2 separate regions of the Homo sapiens genome follow, and region 2 is linked to region 1. Evidence: promoter capture Hi-C in human tissues and cell types (Jung and others, 2019). All regions are on one chromosome and are shown on one strand. The core of a region is centred on a gene start or on the middle of the fragment in contact, and the rest is flanking DNA. Distances in the headings are between cores, read along the strand shown.

Region 1 (5,427 bases), core at 1,302-3,801:
GCAGCGGGGGAGAGGGTGGCTATGTGGTACTGAAAGAGCAGACATATTGGGGGAGGAGGCAGCTCCGGCTGAAATTTGAGCCCTGGGGCTGTGTCCCAGGATGATGTCTGCATTGTCTGGGGTGAGTCACTGGCTTTTTCAGGCCTCTTCCTGACCCCGCCACCTGTGGAGCCTACCCTAACAAGGTGTAGGGGCCAGAATCCAGGTCAAGGTCATACCTTGGGGGTTGGGGGAGAGTCATCCTTGGGATGTGGATGGTCAAGGGGCTTAAGGTTATGAAGCTAACGTGGTAGTCATTGCCTGGTCCCCATCCTGAGGGTAGGGAGGGCTCTGGCTTTATGTGTCATGTCCCCCTTCCTTTCCGTTCCCTTTCTTTCTACTTCACTGCAAGTGTCCTTGGAGGTAACCAGGGACTCTTTGGATAGAGCCTGACCCTGTCCTCAGTTTGCTGCTCTGGGATGTGACTTAATCAAATGGTCATCTTGGGCTAGGGAGGAGGTTCTCCACACCCAAAACATGAGGGGATGCGGCATTAGGAGAGGCAGTGATGGAATCTGGCCAGGCTTGGCTGTGCTGTGTCCCAACCATCTCCATCACCCGGCTCCCCTCCTGGTCCCTGCTGGGAATGGGGTGGTGCATGGAGAGGTGGGAGGGCTAGGGAGTGGGAGTAAGCCACCCTGATGTTAGGGTGGGGTGGGGTGGCCTCCCCTCTGGTCCTTGAGGGCTTGGGGAATAGGGAGGAGCCAATCCACACAGATGCTTCTCCTGACTATGGAATGGAACTAGGTGAGAACAAAGGCTCAGGAGTTCCCAGGGGCCCCAGCTAGTGTCCTCCCACTTGCTTCCTTTCCCTGATCCCTCACCTTGGCCAGAGGCAGGACGATGAAGGCACCCCCGCCTCCAGCCTCCACAATAATGGCCAGGAATTTGGGGTTGACGGCACAGAAGGAGCTGTCCCATGTGACCTTGGACACACGGATGTCCTCGTAGGCCTGGTCGGCCTTTGCTGCCTGCCCAAACACATGGCGGAACTTGCTTTGCCGAACCACACGTCTGCTCATAGCTGCAGGCAGAGAGGTAGGATCTCAGTGCCCAGAAATGCCTTTGGTCCTTAGTCCTGTGAGCTGCGGGAGGGAGGAGGAGTGGAGGGGTGGCTGATGAGAAGGGTTATGTGGTCAGGAGTCAGGTATAAATCCATATAGTGTCTGGTCCTAGAAGCAGGGAGCTTTCTTCAAGGTGGTCAAAGTATGGGAAAGTTATTTTGCTGTGTAAAATGCTGTTTAATGTAAGTGGCTAGGATTTGGGGCCTGAATTCTCCACAGAGACCCAGGCTGAGGGGATTGTGGAGCCTAACAGACTGAAAGCTTTCTGGACGTTGGAATGTTTTTGGGAGGAGCCTCAATGCCACACTGCCTGCACCCCCCGCCCCCACCACCGCCAGCCTTGATGAGCATCTCTTCACGGACGTGGTTGTAGCTCCCAGAGGCACCCTGTCCAGAAGCAGAAGACTTGACCATTGGATCTTGGCTTAAAGCCAGGTATGGGGCCAAGACTGCAGCCACCACAGGATACCGAACTCGCATCTCTGGAATAGTTCAGGCAGATGGGGTTTTGCCTTTTCCTAAAATTTTGCCAAGGGGGAAGTTCCTCCTGTCCACCAATCTGAGTCCTTTCTGCTACTGTTTTCATCCCATGCCTTGTGGGGGGACGGGTGGCAGCACAGAGTGAGGTGGATCCCTCTTCTCCCACTCCTTTCTGCACTGGCTTCTCCAGGAAGCCCTGATCATGGTCTTCTGGCTTTTGCCTACCATAGGCTTGTCCGGTTTCTCCTCTGGGTCCTCTGCCCTGGTTGGGCCTTCTTCCTAGTGAACTCTTCTAGGGGTGGGGTCTTCAACCCCATCCTCCACCCCTGCCCCCGCCACGGCCAAGCCAGATTTGCAGGGGTGGGGAGGGTGAGGTGCCTTTTCTCCAGCTAGGGTCTCCCTAGAGGACACACTGAGCACTCCCAAAGCCCCAGCCAGTGGCTCCTGCCCCACCCCAGCCCCAGCATCCGTGTGCCCTTCAAGGCGCGTCTGCGGCCCCGAGCCTGAGGCCCGGCCTCCCTGCACCCTTCTTCAGCCTGCTGCCCTGACACTGCGTTCTTGCGAGACGAGGTGTCTGCGCCCTCCGGGAGCGCTGGCTGCTGTCCGGCCAAATATAGACACCACGTCCTCCCCGCCCGAAACCGAATTTGGCGGCGCGGGGGGAGGAGGCGCAGACCTCTGCCCCTCAGGGACCCCGCCCGCTCCGCTGGCTGCGGTGACGGCCGGGTGTGGGGGGCTGGGTACCTGGTCCTGAGCGGGCTGCGGGGCGCTCACGCTGCGAATCCTCTGCGGAAGGGGCCCGAGTGCGTAGGGGGCCGAGGAAGGCTTCAGGGCGAAGGAGCCACCTCTCCGGGTGTCTGTAGTATCTGGGACCCGGGTGTCCAGCTCCGCACTCTGGCCGATCCTGCGGCTCTCTAGAGCCCGGCGCCGCTGCAGCCCCAGCTGCCGCTGCCATCAACCTAAGAGGGCGGGGCTAGCATAGGGGCGGGGCCAGAGCCCAAGTTGCCCCGCCCCCTCCAGCGGCGGGAAAGTCGAGCGACCCCGACTCCCCTCCCAGCTTCCGCCGGCCTCGGAGAACCATCGAAAATAAATGTGCAGCTGTGTGCTAGGTGCGCACGCTGCTTCCCTCCCTCCATGACTCCCGGGTAGGCTGGGGAGGCTCGGGTTCGCAGACCTAGAGCAGGACGCTTGGAGAGGGAACGGGCGAGGGGGCGTGCGCCCCTAGAGCGGGCAGCCGAGGGAGACCAGGTGCCTCCACCCGCATTCCAGCCTCAATCGCGCTCCCAATTTAGCTGTCCCGATCGGCCGGGACTGCGGGACTGCACTTCCAGGCCTCCCTGGGGGAAAGAGGCCCTAGAGAATGAGGACCCAGGCTGATCCTGATGTAGGGCAAGTGAGAGGGCACCCGACACAGGGTTGTGAATGTTAGTTATTGTTATGAATGGCAATAGCGATCATTTGAGAAACCTAAAATGCTGGCTGTGTGCTAGGCATTTCACCCCATTAGATGAGATTCCATGGAGCAGGGCAGGAAGCAGCTGAAAGAACAAGGGGAGGACCGAGTGTAAAGTGAACCCACCTTGACACTCCCTCCCCTCCCAGATGCAGGGGGAAGAGGCTAGCACCGGTCTCTAGTCACATTTTAGGGGTCAGAGAAGCCAACTCAGAGGCCAGACTCCTAATGTTTTCTGGGCCTTGTTTGAATTGGCGCCCGACTGTGTTCCAGGTAAGCTTCCCCCGTCTCCCCCAATATTCACAGAACTGAATGTTGACCGAGGTCAAGGAGATTAAAGATAACCTGATCAAAATACAGCCAGTGAAGACCAGCCAGTCCCGTAGCTCCAGTCTACCCAGTGTCTGCACATTGCCTGGATTTCTTCCCTTGGATCATAAGGGCATCTGGGGCCAGTTATTACTTCCCACCCTCCAGGGCACACCTGGGAGTGAGTGAATGGAACACAGCCTTCTGAAGGGCAGGAACCAGCACTGGGGAGGAAAGGGAGGGAAGGTGGTAGAAACCATGAAGGGCCCACGAGGCTCCTTTGTTTCTCAGGAAGAGTCCAGGTGGCTTGTAGGGACAGAATCAAATCAAGAGTCAGTGGCTTGTAGGGGAACAGAATAAAAAACTGTTACGAGTGCTCCAGAAATAACTCCTGGCGTAGGGGTGCTGGGGCAGGGTATGAGGGTATGTGAGTCATCTCTCTTTTACCTAAAGATTCCAGGCACATGATTAGGAGGAAAATACCTGAGTGACTCAGTTGCTCCTTTACAACAATAACCCATGCTTATGTGCTAGGCACTGGCACTAAGGGCTTTATACGTATTAATTTCATACTCTTAACAATCCTCTAGGCTGGTCGCGGGTGGCTAACGCCTGTAATCCCAGCACTTTGGGAGGCTGAGGCAGGTGGATCACCTGAGGTCAGGAGTTCGAGACCAGCCTGGCCAACATGGCAAAACCCCATCTCTACTAAAAATACAAAAATTTGCCAGGTGTGGTGATGCACACCTGTAATCCCAGCTACTCAGGAGGCTGAGACACGAGAATTGCTTGAACCTAGGAGGCAGAGGTTGCAGTGAGCTGAGATCATGCCACTGCCCTCCAGCCTGGGTGACAGAATGAGACTCTGTCTCAAATAAAACACACGCACAAAAAACCAAAAAACAATCCTCTAAGGTGGGTACTGTTGTTATCCCTATTTAACAGTTGAGGAAATGGAGCCACAAAGAGGTTAGGTGGCTTACCCATCACAACCTCAACTGGTAGTTGATGTAGCTATGATTCTTACCCACGTGGTCTGGCATCTGGTTCTTGCTTTTCAGCAGCATGCATTTCTGTCTCTCCCTGAAGGACAGTGCCACTTTATCTCACAAGTGCTGAGCTAAAACGTAACTGAGAGTTTATACTGTGTGGCACAGAGGAAAGGATGCCTGGAATGAATTAAAAAACTGGTTCCAGTCCTGGCTCAATCGCCATATTTTTACAGCTCTCTGAACAGGATTGGGTCAGATTCTTTCCAACTCTGCACCACTCCTTAGCAGAGTAGGGATTTTATGTGCTGCCTCCTCTGAAGTGGCATCTCCCCTACCCCCACCCTCCTTCTCTTTAAAGAGAACAGGAGACTCCCTTCTAGAGGGAAGCGCTTGGGACTAGGAAGCAGGAATCCTTCAATGCGTGCTCCCTTCAGTTCCATCATCTAGGAAGAGCAGTGCTTTCTGGGTACAGGGATTCAGATATTTGCTTGGGCCTGGCGTAGCTCAGCCCTGCCCTCTAGCCTTCTTCTGGCTGCCAAGGCCTGACAGAGCTGTGAGTGGGCAGAGTTAAGGCAGGAAGAACCAATCAGGGAGAGAAGCTACTTGGGCTTCGTGCCTCCCTTTTGAACTGTTAGCTCTGAACGGCAATCCATAGAAGACAGCCATGGATTTCATCTTTTAGGAAGCCATTTTCTGGATGAGGTAGCTCGCAACTTAGCCATGATTTGGTCCATCTGCTTTGGCTAGAAAACCAAGACTGAACTTATCTAGATTGGTCAGGGATCCCAGGGATCCTTAGAATATTTTGTGAAAGACCTTACCTTCACCGTCATGCACTCCAGCTAAAGACCAGCACTGTGCCCCTCCCACTTGATATGGATGATTCAGAATGAAGCAGGCTGACTTTAGTTCAAGGCAGTGATTTTTTTTTTTGAGGGGGGCGGGGACTTCAAATTTTGTTAGCAATTGGGAACTGGAAACTGAGCTCTCCCTAGATGGTAGTCCTGCCTTGTATGTGATGAATGGCACCACTAAATATCTCATGATGTTCATGTCCCATTTCTAGACATTTTTCAGTGGGCTGAGGTGT
Region 2 (6,099 bases), core at 670-3,169, 78 kb before region 1:
AGGTAGCAGTATGGGAGTCCGCAATAGCCCCCAGGCTCTGAGGCGGACAGCTTCTGGGGGACGGACGGAGCAGGGCATGAGCAGAAGCACGAGTGTCACTTCACAAATATCCAATGGGTCACACATGTCTTATACATAACTTAATAATTGAGAGTGGCAATTCCGCTGGAGCTGTCTGCCAAAAGAAACTGCCTACAGACATCATCACAGCAGCCTCCTCACTTGGGTACTACAGTGTGGAAGCTGAGTGCATATGGTATATTTTATTCATTTTTGTAAAGCGTTCTGTTTTGTGTTTACTAATTGGGATGTCATAGTACTTGGCTGCCGGGTTTGTTTGTTTTTGGGGAAATTTTGAAAAGTGGAGTTGATATTAAAAATAAATGTGTATGTGTGTACATATATATACACACACATACACATATATTATGCATGTGGTGAAAAGAATTGGCTAGATAGGGGATTTTTCTGAACACTGCAAAAATAGAACGTAGCAAAATGGCTTCAGTTATCACTTTTGGGTGTCTGTATCCTAAGAAGTTTCTGAAAAGATCTAAAGCCTTTTTATCCCATATCCCAAATTCTTATGAGCCACTCACAGCAGGCAGCATATGTTGAAATAAGTTATTACTGGTACACACCTGCATTGCCTCACCAGTGTATTTATTTGTTATTAAATTGATCTGACTTCTCAGCCTCATTTGGACTAAAAAAAGAAAGCAGAAATCCATGAACACATTGCTTCTCGGCCTTTTGGCTAAGATCAAGTGTAGAAATCCATGAACACTAAAGGACTTCATTGATTTTTTCAGAGAGTAGAAAACAACTTAGTTTTTCTTTTTTCCTGAATGCGTCATAGGCTTGTGAGTGATTTTTGTCCATTCAATTGTGCCTTCTTTGTATTATGATAAGATGGGGGTACTTAAGGAGATCACAAGTTGTGTGAGGATTGCATTAACAAACCTATGAGCCTTCAATGGGGAAGACCAGAAGGGTGAGAGGGGCCCTGAAAGTTCATATGGTGGGTATGTCCCGCAGCAGAGTGAGGAGATGAAGCTTACGTGTCCTGACGTTTTGTTGCTTATACTGTGATATCTCATCCTAGCTAAGCTCTATAATGCCCAAGACCCCAAACAGTACTTTTACTTTGTTTGTACAAAAACAAAGACATATAGCCAATACAAATCAAATGCCGGAGGTGTTTGATGCCATATTTGCAAATTGCCATCTATTGAAATTCTCGTCACACTACATAGACATAATTGTTATCTCCTTTTGGCTTATGTGATTTTCTGTTTACAAGTAGAATAGCCAATTATTTAAATGTTTAGTTGCCACAGTGAACCAGGAGTCACTGAGCCAATGACTTTACCAGCTGCTGACTAATCTTCATCACCACTGTAGATTTTGCTGCATGTGCAGGTCCTCTATTTTTAATTGCTGTTTTCGTTGCTGCAGTACTTTACAAACTTCTAGTTCGTTGAGACTTAGTGACCATTTGGCATCAAGTTAACATCACACAATAGGAAACACCACTTCCACAAGTCTCAAGCCTCAGTGCTAAAGTACTACTGAAAAGGAACTAGGAAGTTTGGCCAATTAAAAAAAAAAAGTAAAATAAGTTATAGTGGTCAGGGAATCTCTTGACGAAAGCTAACTCTTATTTTTCAGGGGGCACATGTTTTGTTTTGTTATGTTTTGTTGTACAATGAAGGATGAACCCAATGCTAAAAAGTCAGTTATTTTCTTGGTTTTCCATTTCTTGTATATAAATTGTGTTGGAGGTGGGTAGGAAGCTGTGAGTATGACTTGAAGAAAAATATCCTTTTCAGTGACAAATCAGAGTTTCTTACAAGTTATTGTCCTGCTCCCTTCCAAGTTGTCTTGAAGAATCCTTGCTGCTAACTCTGGATCCTGCTTTTCCTATAGTCAGAGGGCTCCAAGGTAGAACTCTCTAAGTCCCTCTCAATGGCACTCTTTGCCTAGACCAAACTAATGACCAAACAGTAATCAATCTATCACTGTTGAAGTCCTGGTTTTCTCAACCAAATTTTAAGTCTTTCCCAGGTATGTCAGTCGAGTTGCCATGAATCCTCACCTGTAGGAGTTTCTGGGATTCATTTTAAGGAAACTGGAAGAAAATTAATGTTTTAATGTAAATGTTTTTAAAACCAAGATCACCATAGAGTTCACACAAAATTTTAGGCAGTGTTTCAAGAAGCACTCTTATGTGTTGTTCTTTCAGCCCATGCTCCAGGTCACCGGTTTTTAGGTAAACATGACATGACATGTACTTGTAATATCAGTGAAAGGGGCTTTTAGTCGTCTCAGTATCTTTTTTGCATTCAGGTATTATAGCGTTTCCAACAAATTGAGAAATTACTTATTTGGTGTAAAATGACGAGAGAGCTTTAGAATTTAATAAAATGTCAAAAATACAATTTGATACCCTTAAAAATTATTCATAGATCTGGCTGCTCTGTACTACTGGATGGGTGGAATAGGGAAGCAGATCACTTTTGCATACAAAAACTCTTTCAAACCCAAAATATTATTGGTGGTACATTTTAAAGTCCAATTGTGGACTTAAATTAGTCAAATTGAGAGTTACTGAGTCCATTCAGATCTCCAGTAGGGTTTTGTATCTAATGTATTTGGCCACCAGTTTTACATGTAGGTCATGACTATACCTGGATTTTATCATTAAGTTAACTTTAAAGTATATACAGTTTGCAAAAAATGATTCAAATTAATTGGTTTGTATATGTTTGTGAGATCTAGCTTCTGAGGAATCTCATACATAGTAGGAACCATCATAGAGTAAAGCTTGTAGCAGAAAAATTGGAAGGGTTTTGAGATATCCTAGAGAAAGAGCAAGCACTTTCTGAATCAGTGGGGAAATATCAATATTTGATCAAATTAACACTACCTCCTTCCCAGTGTTGGTGTTCACTCACTATATGTCTTTAAGAAAATTAAAACTATGGAAAATTTGTCTAGCATATCAGAAGTTGTAAATGCTATATCTGGTATCCAGAGGCTGGCTGTAAAAAGTTCCTTGGGGTCACTCTATCTCACATTTTTTTTGGTTAGCATTTTAAAAATGCAAAGCCACATACTTTGAAATATATTATTCCAAATTGAGCTCCCTTCCCTTTGCACATATTTTTTCCTCCCCTTATTGAAGTCAGCTCTAACCCCAAATTCTAGTATCCAAAAGTATTTTTATTTGTATAATGCTATCTGAAAAATGTGTTTATATTATATTTTCAGAGCTGCAATTCTTATTCGCCATTTCAATACCTAGAGATAGAGAGTCTTGTATTTGAAGCCACACACACTGGTGTAATATGCTTAGTACTCTAGGTCAAGGATTTGTTGGTAAATGGAACATTTTAGCATAGTCATGATTTTTGGTTGCCTAGACATCAGGTAAACATTCAGTACACTAAAGAAACTATCCTGGACACTCCCTCCTGCTTCCACCAATTTTTTTCTCACCCCCTTTTCAAAAATTGAAAACTCTATGAGTGTCTTTTTGAGACCATAAAGCAGACTTTAGTAACTTTCTATTTCTGTAAGTACTAAATGTCTGGCATTTTAAACTTTTGTAGAATACATTATGTTGGACACTGGAATAATACTATTTATTTTCACCTGTGAAAAATGACTTCATTGTACTTGAAACACCTCCTTTGCATTTCTCCATTTGTGCCATTCACTAGTGGAAATAAATTGTATTATACCATGATCTACTGGCTTTTTAAAACTGTATTAAATATGCACATTTTTGGTATAGCTATTATCATTTGTATGTATATATTGTATATACATATGAGTGTCTGTATGTGTGTATAGATGGATGGATGTAACTCATACTGTACATTTCCATCAGGGCACTTAAAAGTTCTGTTATTTTTGTTTGGTTTTGTTATTTCAGTCCTCAGTTAAGGCAAGAATGCATGTGTTTCTTAAGAATGAGTACTCTGCGTTGATGTTTATGAGAAGGTGGTCATTAGATGCAGTCTTTTCCTTTTTAATCCCCTCTTAGCACTTCTGTGAGTGGAGAGGACATTAAGTAAAATTTGGAATCATAAGTTGCAATGCAGTAAAATGGTGCTGGGGAAGGAGCCAGTTAGTGTTTCTGTGAGTTTGTGTTGTGATGCAATAAGAGATAAGTAATGCAGAGAGAAATGAACCATGGAAAGTAAGAACACTGATGGTGATTCCTCTGCAAAGATGATAAGAAAAAGAACCAATAAATCACACAATCTTTATGTGCTTTCTATATGTATTTCTTAGTAGTGATACCATTGATCCTCTTACTTTTTTTACTCCATTAATACTAATAATTATATACTTTGCTGAGGATCAAAACAGCCAAGAAAGGAATTACTGCTAAAGCATCTAAGATTCTCCTGAACTGTAAAATCAACAGGAAATGGCCACTGGGAGAGAAGGATTTGGTATTGGGTGAGGGGCTTTCTCCCTTTACCTGCCTCTTCTTGCTTGCTAATAGTAAGTTCTTTGTGCACCTTCCACCACTTCTGAGCCACTACTATTCAAGTAGAGATTTGCCCCAACACATTAACTTTTTCCTTGGAGATTTATATGGTCCTGCATTTTGTCCTGTGCTCACAATGTGAAGTGTCTTCTGTATTCAAATCAAAAAATAATATATTTAAGGTATATAAGTGTGAATCTCCTATAATGATGGAAGAAGAGGTTCTCTTGTCTTAGATAGAAAAGAGCCTTCTCCAAGAGCAATGTCAAAACTTGGGCTGTCATCTTTGAGCTGTTTACCAAAATACAGACCATTATTGAAGAAAAACAAATTATCTATTTTGTTTTCCCCCATCTAACATGATAGTGCCCCCAACCAGGTTGTAGCATTGCCTTTTAAAAGAGACTCACTCACTCTTAGTTTTTAAGAACTGGAAATTTCCCATCCTCAGATCCCTTAAAGGATGAAGAGTTGGCTGTACACTTAGCGGACTTGCCTCTTGTATGCAAGGACTACTGATTGAAGTCTGTTTTGCTGTGTCTGGTTATGTTGTCTGCACTTTTATGAAATCACTACAATAGGTCTGCATTGGAAATGACTATTAATTTGTAAAGAAGTAAGTTTTATTAAACACTGTCTAGAAAAAGAAAGTGAAGCTGAGAACTCTTCCTTTATTGTGCATTTATATTTTCTGCTGAATTCCGGTAGTTCCCTTTAAAGTCATGTTGACTAATGTTTTCCTCCTTGTTTGTATTCAGATTTCCAAAATTTCACTCATACAAGGGAAGAGACTCCATTTAGCTTAACGGTAGTCTTTAGATCATAAGAAATATATAAATTAGTATGCACCTTATCTGCCTGTTGTGGGTTTCTTAAACTTGCACTTCCTACCCACCCAAAGATAGATATCCTTTAAAGAAAATAAAGGCAGAGAATTAAAACTGGGGAGCCATTTACTATGTCACCATCACTGTTAACTGTTTCCCAGCAATCTAAACTTTTTGAAGTTTCAGAGGTGTATTTTTTTTTTGTATATATGTCTGTGTGATTGTATTGTTTTGTTTCTAAATATACAAGGAATTCTTTAAATAGAGAAAAAGGTTAATCCTCACTGAAACACCAGGATGCCCACTGGATATACTAATCTGAACATCTGTAGGTAGTTTGTCATGAAAAAGTGGAGAGAAGATGAGACTTTTGAATGAATGAAAAAGGGTATCTTGATACCCAGAATTCCCCCCAAAGTACGGGTAATTCAACCTGCACAGTTTTCTTTCACTCAAAGTGTTCAGCACTTGTGAGTGAAAAATCATGTAATTATCTGTAAATATGTAGCTAACAAATTGACCTAGTTTCTGTATTTTTTTGTTTTTGTACTAAAGTTTATAGGTCTGTGCCAGCTAGAGAGAAGTTGCTGTCATTACCAGTTGTGGTCCTAGCATCTAACCCTGAAACCATCCTAGGTGACATTTTTAGAATTAATACTTAAATGTTAAACAGGGGGAAATGAAGCTTAATCATGGTCAGGTTTGAGATCTTTTGCAGTGAAATAATTTTATTTAATATAAATGATCACATGTCCTCAATCATGAATG

The links. Contacts are between HindIII fragments. The study calls those that stand out against the background at their distance.
Region 2: a fragment that was not itself captured here is called in contact with the fragment with the promoter of CORO6 in region 1 in 2 of the 25 tissues and cell types used here (H1 embryonic stem cells and dorsolateral prefrontal cortex).

The regions. Positions count from the first base shown.
Region 1 is chr17:29,620,361-29,625,787 of GRCh38, forward strand. It overlaps CORO6 (coronin 6), which reads right to left and starts at 2,552. Exons shown (of 11, transcript NM_032854.4): 1 at 2,328-2,552; 2 at 864-1,124. The coding sequence starts at 1,061. RefSeq lists enhancers at 1-245, 3,153-4,352 and a silencer at 2,216-2,365. The HindIII fragment of the contact is 11,130 bases long and covers 1-5,174 here.
Region 2 is chr17:29,542,884-29,548,982 of GRCh38, forward strand. TAOK1 (TAO kinase 1) reads left to right here. Exons shown (of 20, transcript NM_020791.4): 20 at 1-6,099. The coding sequence ends at 139. It also overlaps the pseudogene LOC124904148. Among named protein-coding and RNA genes, the nearest start is that of ABHD15, 21 kb to the right of the region's middle. The HindIII fragment of the contact is 5,004 bases long and covers 1-4,421 here.